Regions from separate parts of the Homo sapiens genome. Here region 2 is linked to region 1. The links are contacts of gene promoters, found by promoter capture Hi-C in human tissues and cell types (Jung and others, 2019). All regions are on one chromosome and are shown on one strand. The core of a region is centred on a gene start or on the middle of the fragment in contact, and the rest is flanking DNA. Distances in the headings are between cores, read along the strand shown. Region 1 holds the start of OTOF (otoferlin). Region 2 overlaps SELENOI (selenoprotein I).

What was found. Contacts are between HindIII fragments. The study calls those that stand out against the background at their distance.
Region 2: a contact is called between a fragment that was not itself captured here and the fragment with the promoter of OTOF in region 1, in 2 of the 25 tissues and cell types used here (mesenchymal stem cells and mesendoderm cells).

What each region holds. Positions count from the first base shown.
Region 1 is chr2:26,557,089-26,560,442 of GRCh38, forward strand. OTOF (otoferlin) reads right to left here and starts at 1,668. Exons shown (of 47, transcript NM_194248.3): 1 at 1,405-1,668. The coding sequence starts at 1,483. RefSeq lists enhancers at 1,029-1,822, 1,823-2,615. The HindIII fragment of the contact is 11,571 bases long and covers 1-3,354 here.
Region 2 is chr2:26,388,157-26,391,510 of GRCh38, forward strand. It overlaps SELENOI (selenoprotein I), which reads left to right. Exons shown (of 10, transcript NM_033505.4): 10 at 849-3,354. The coding sequence ends at 947. Among named protein-coding and RNA genes, the nearest start is that of DRC1, 12 kb to the right of the region's middle. The HindIII fragment of the contact is 3,586 bases long and covers 42-3,354 here.

The sequences.
Region 1 (3,354 bases), core at 418-2,917:
CTCCACCCCTGCCTGTCCCTATGAACACAAGCTGCAATGTGGGCATCCCAGGGCCTCTGGGTAGGTGATGTGGGTGCCCCAGGGCTCTTGCTGGAATGTTCTGCCAATGGTCTCTCCCATCCCTTCCAACAGAGGTGCAGACACTGTGTCCAGCCTGGGCCCCAAGGCTCACTTTGCTCTTTAGTATAGGGGGGTCCTCTCTGCCCCCTTCTCACCACCTCGTCCCCATCCCACTCTCAGACCCCTCTCTCGGGAGAAGGGGCCATGTCTAGTGAGAAGTACCCCCAACCCTCAGGGCTGGGCAGCAACCACATGGAGAGGCAGAGGTGGGTGGTGAAGGACAGAGTCAGCCTGGCCCTGCCTTTCCCCACTTAAAATGCTCAGGGGCTCCGCTGTCCCCGGGGTCAGGTCCAGCCTCGCCTCCTTGCCCTGCTTGGCTCTCTGGCCTCCGCTCCTGCACCCTCTCTGAGCTGTAGACACATGGAACCTCTTTCAGTTCCAGAGTTTCAGCTCCTCTCTCAGCTCTGGGCACACTGTTTCCTCTGCCTCCTCAGTCCTTACCTCCTCTCCTAGCTCCCACCCGCTGGTCCTTCGGGTATTAGCTGAGTGTTACTTCCTCCGGGAAGCCTTCCCTGACCACCGGTCACCAGCCTGGGTGAGGGTGCTGCTTCTGTAGCTTGCATGCTGCACCCCCACCTTCTGTCTCACATACCTGTCCTGCTTGTTCCACGCCTGCCCAACAGATGCAGGCTCCTTGGGGCTGGGGCTGGGTTGTGCTCAGCTCTGTGTTTCTACCCCTATCCTTGGGACACAGTAGATCATAATAAATGGTCGCTGAATACAGGAGTGAAAAGGATGAGAAAAGACCAGACAGAAGAGAGGCGAGGGGCTCCCGGGGTTCCCGCCCATGAATAGATCTAAAAGAAGCCAACAGTGTCCCCCATCACTCTGGGGCCCAGGGAGCTACTGGCTGCCTGGTTTCTCCCAGTCACCCTGGGTGCCCCAGGCTCCATACCCGGCCCCCACCCTGTGCTCAAGGAAATCAACCTGCAGGAGAGGGAGAGAGAGAGAAGGAGGGGGTCCTGGGTCTCCCTGAGCTCAGGGATGTGGTCCTCACTTCTGCCTCCCCAGGCAGAGGGCTCTGTGCCCTGCCCGGGGAACTGGCATGTTGGCAAGCACAAGGAGACACAGGCATGGAAGAACAGGGGACCCTGATTTTCCAGAAATCACAATGGCCAGTCAGTCCCAGGCAGATGACTACCTGTGAAAAGGCTCGTCGCCCCAGCCCCTGCTAGAACTTTTCCCACCCATCCTCCCAGCCCTGTCCTATCCCCGGCCACCTCCAGAGCATGGGCTGGTCCAGCTCTCAGAGCTGGCGTCCCTCTGAGACAGCGGCTTCCCTACCTCGGAAAGTCACTTTGGCGATCCGGTCGCCCCTGCCCCGCAGCTCCGAGACTGTCTTGAGGTGGATGAGCAAGGCCATGCTGGTGTGGGCTGCCTGGCACTGCCAGGCAGGAGCAGCGGGAAGGAGCTAGCCGGTGGAGCACGGCTCACACGCCTCTCTCTTCTCTGCCGCTGCCTCCTCCTCCTCCTCCCGACCCCCCTCCGATGCTGCCCACAGAGACCAAGGCAACCAAGCCGAGCTAAGCTGCTCCTGCAGCGACTCACAGAGCCTCACAGCCCCCGCCCCTCCAAGTTGTCAGCCCAGCGTGTGTGTATCGGTGTGTGCGTGTGTGTGTGTGTGTGTGTGCACCCAATGTGCAGCCTGGGAGTGCGGCAGAGTTGGAATTCATTATTCAGCAGCCGCCGGCTCCCAGATAAAGCTCTGTCCAGCTTCAGGTGTCTTCTCCCAGCTCCTGGAAGGGAGGCTCTGCCCACCCCTCTGCAGGGCTCTGCTGCTTCCCTGCTAAGCAAGCCCTGCCACCAGTAGTGGGCACAGAGGAGTGGGCATGAGCATAGGTAGGGTGGATGTGGGGCGGGGGGCACTCCCACCCACAGGGGCACACTACAAGAAGAAGGGAATGTATTTGTCCACCTACGCCCACCTCTTCCCTGCTGGAGACTGTGCCCCCAAGAGGCTGGGCCCTGAGCCCTGCCCTGGGATCCCTGTTTCTGAATCTCAGGAAGCAGAGAGGCTGGGGCTGCTGCCTGAGGGGAGGCTCAGGACCAGGCCATGCATGATGGAGATGGCTGGTTGTGGAGGCAGCAGAGGCTTATGTGCTACCAGGGGCCATGTTTAAGGATCCAGGGCACTAACCTAGCCCCACCCCAAGGCTGGGGGTCAGGCAGGCTAGCGAAGGTAAGCCAGGCTGATGTTTGCTTTCCAGCCAGAGGAGCAGAATTGAATGGCCTTCTGCTGTTATAAGCTGCTAGGGGCAGGAGAAGGGATGTCTATAGGGAAATTTCTAAGGACCAAAAGAGAACTGCCCCCTCCTGTCTTCCAGCAGCATACACCAAGGAAAGGGACGCTGGGGGCCAGAATCCCTGATGCTGGAATCTGTGCAGGGTCATCTGCAGCCTTGTTCTTGCTATTCATTCTTGGTGGAATGCCCTCCACCCCACCCTGGACTCAGCTTGAGTGCCTGCTCCTGGAGGTGCCTCTGTACCCGCACCCCAGCTGGGTTGGGGTCCTCCTCTGTGCTGCTCCTGCCTCCTCTCATCTTACTGAGTCCTGGGGCTGCTTCCCTTGCCTTTTCCCCTCCTGACCTCAGGAGGGCCCTGGAGCACAGCATCCCTCTACCCCAGAGCCCCACATGGTATCCTGTGCACCGTAGGATGCCCAATTACTGTTGAAAGGATAAAAGAGTGAGCTCAGGGATCTACCTGAAACAGAGTCTAAAGGTTAAAAAGAGAAATACTAATTTTTCACAGCATGGTAACAAGAGGTTACTTCTTTTGAATTCTGCATTCCAAATAACCTACAGTATGTCCCAAGAGCCTTCTTTCCTCCTTCTAGATATTTCCTTGCTACTGTGCCCTATTTTTCTTTTTCTACTTACGTTTTTTTCCTTTGCACTTTTTCCTAACCAATTCTTGCTTACCTTTCTCACATTTATCTAATCATATTGAATTTAAAAATGTCTTAGAGTATTCTGTTTATTGAATACAAGTATGAATGCTAAATTTTCAAAAGCTAGATAAGTTTAATGTCTTAAAAAAAAAAACACCTAAATTCACTAGCATTTTCCATCCATGAGGTCATCAGGTGATCTGTGTTTTTAAGGCTTGGTGACTACAAGGTACAACAACAACAACAGAAAATATCTTCTTCCTTGGTTCTCTGGAGGTCCTCCCCTGAAAGGAGTGAATTTCATGAGGCCTCTTATAGACCCTGTGCATCTTTAGGAAAAAGCC
Region 2 (3,354 bases), core at 585-3,084, 170 kb before region 1:
AATACTCTTCGGCCTTTATCCTGATATTTCATCAATATATGCATGGCATAGAATATCCATTTGCCAGTGTCTTTTTTAATTGTTTTCATTTACTATAGCCTTTTAGAAGCATATCTTTAGAAAGCTACATACATACCAAACCAAACCAAAATATACTTTTCTTTAAATGATAAAGGTACTACATTTTCATTGTTAAAAACCTGGAAAATAAATAACACGCTAACTGGAAAACAATTTAGGATCATCTTTTTTATCTGTCTTTGTGTTCTTTTACCACATCTACAACTTCTGGCCAGAAGTTAAAACTTGCTAGGCCACACAAAACATTCACTTGAACTGCTGAAATGTAAATAATAAGTATCAAGTAAATGACATGCACTCGCTGACCTATAACTAAGCTCTTGCCTTCCCACTAGAGATACCCTAACTAATAAGGCCTCTCCAAATTCATAGATCTAGTTTTGTACTATTTCATCGGGATTAGGAATGATTACTTAGAAATGTTTAGCAAGCTGAATATAGAGTCTAACTATAAATATGATTACTTGATCTAGATGCTACAGGTCAACTAATCCTATAGTTTTTCAGATTTGGATGTGAATTTGAGTGCTCTGGAGGGTTCTCAAGACTAGATTTTAGTTCTAAGTCCTAACTTTCCCATGTTAGTTCTAGTACTTCCATTTAGCTGTCTAGTTCTATAGCTATCCTAATCCAGAAAAACCTTTTCAGTATTTCTCATGATTTTTGCCGTGTCAATAAATTGTTATCTCTAGGGGGTAAATTCTGTGTGCTTTTAAAAAACAATAAGGTACATATTTGTCACTGTCTCATGTTCTGATTTTTCATAGGTAAAGCAGCTGAGCAGCCATTTTCAGATTTACCCCTTCTCATTGAGGAAACCAAACTCAGATTGACTAGGAATGGAAGAAAAGAATATTGGCCTGTAATAATCTTTCTTTGGGCACAAAGAAGTACTGTAAATAAATGCTTGTAAATATTTCCTCCATCACCATTGAACTAGACTGATCTGCTTGACAGACGTGGGATCTCAGTATGGTACTTGGACAGCAGGAATGATACATATAATCTGAACTTGGGAAATTTTGGACCTACTAACTCTAAGCCTATTTTATTTTTTATAAAACTATGTGACATTTTGGTTGAGCAGAATGTACGTTAGACCAGCAAAATGTTCCTAATGGTTCTAACTTCGTGAGTTTACAATGTTGTGATTCATGCAGGGTTAAAGATGCTTTGTTTTTATTTTTTAAGTACCAAAATTGGTTTCAGAACACTGATAACACTCAGAAAACCACAGTGTGTTTTCATATTTGGAACTTTGTAATAGCGGGAGTAGCAGTAGTCCAAACCTAGTATAGGGAAAGGATAAAAATAAGTCACCTTCACCAAGAGATGCCAATGATTACCAAACAACAGACAGTTGCCAAATACTGGTTTCTCTTTCCCCTGAAAATGGCTTTTGTTCTCAAATGATAAGAGAGCTAATACATTTAGCTAATATTCTAGCTCTCTTTATTATGGAACAGATCTTGATAGATGGTTTAATTTTCTCCTAAAGAGAAATAATCAGTTGAGAATTTGAGAATGGGTTGTAATTATCGCTCACCCATTGGGATGGTTCATTGTTTAAATATGGCATTTTCCCCCCTTCAGCTGCAGGTTCCTGAGATTTGGTGCCTGTGAGCTCTGATTGTAGGAATGCATGTGACAGTCCCAGTCCTATGGTAATGACTTAGGAGGAATGCAGATAAAAGTACCTTGTAAGATAAATATAAATTGGAGTTAGGAATTTCATGAACCTCACTATGACCAAAATTAATTTTTTGATTCAGTTTGTCTGTCTGTCTGTCCTTCCCCTCTCTTCTTTTTTCAGGGTGAGGTGCTGTGTTTCTTATTTCATACGAGATAAAACAGAGAGAAGTTCTCTCTTCTCCAGCTTGTCCATTTCCCCACTTGAAGAAAACTTTTGATATATATGCCTTACTGAGTACATGCCCCCTTTAATGTTAACATGACTTGGAGTAATTTCTGAGGTTTACTGACAAACATAAAAATCCCTTTAATTGTAGTGTAGTTGTTCTATAAACCATATTTTTTCATGATGTGGATATTTTCTTCTATTTCTTTGTCTTCATTTAATTTGGTGGTGGTGAACTTTACTTGCTGATTTTCTTTTATTTTTCACTGAATGAAGTTTGTGCTTGAATGAAGAGTGTATCTTAAACCCCCTTTTTTTGGACAGGCTGCACTTGGATAAAATAGGCACCACTGTGTTGATATGTAATTAAATTCATAACTATTTATGAATGTGACCATTGTTAAATTTAATTATAGTGTATTTCTTTCTTGAATTTCAGTCTGCTGCTTTGTAAAAAATAACTGTAATTGATATTTCATTTTTAAAATTTATAAATTCCAATCATTGTCATTCAAGTTATTAGAAATGAGTCACGGCACTAACTCATGGTTCTATACTCATTTTAAGAAATTGTAAAGGTTGAGGTGTATTTGGTGACTTTCTCTGAGACACAGATGAACGTTGGAAATAGATGAGAAATGGATGCAGAATAATGCAGATAGTGATCCCATGTTTGTTAATTGCCATCATGGAAGTCAGAGAATTAACCAATTAAGTGACGGTAACTATTTTTTGTATACCTTGTTCTTTGTGATCTATAAAATTAAACTGGATAAAATGTTAATTGGGGGTAGGGAAAAAGCTTTGTTTTAAGATTTCTAAGCTAATTATTTTACCGTTTTGTTGACCTTGTACACAAGAATGAGATTAATCTGTATTATATAAGAAAAGAACTGATAAATATTTATAAAATGACAAACTTGGACCACAGGCTTTCTTGACCTTGTACAGTATAGTAAAAATACCCTTTACTTCTGACATTTTAAGGTCACGTCCTATAGTTTGGGGGCCCTTTTACTTCAAAGGTGTGTTTCTGCCCTCTTTTGGTTGTATCAAATTTATTTGAAAATTGTTTTGTGCTGTACTTTATGACTTGTTTCCCTATGGTGGTAAAGAATGATGCCATAGTCAGTTTTATTGACATTGTTAGATGAAAGAAAAGTAGCTGTCAACAAGGGGAAAGTGAAATTGAGCAATTCACTGTTTCAGGATACTTGAGGATCTTTAGTGTACTGCTGACTCTTTTTCTTGTTTTGTCTGCCATTCTTGAAAGTGCATCTTGAGAGCCCCCATTTGTTGTGTAGAGATATAGCAGCTGAAGCAGGACTTCATTCCAGATAGCTGTGTGCATTTATGTCATGCCAATTACTATAACATTTCCAAAGTATGAAAGGTCTTTCAGGCTTATGCATGAT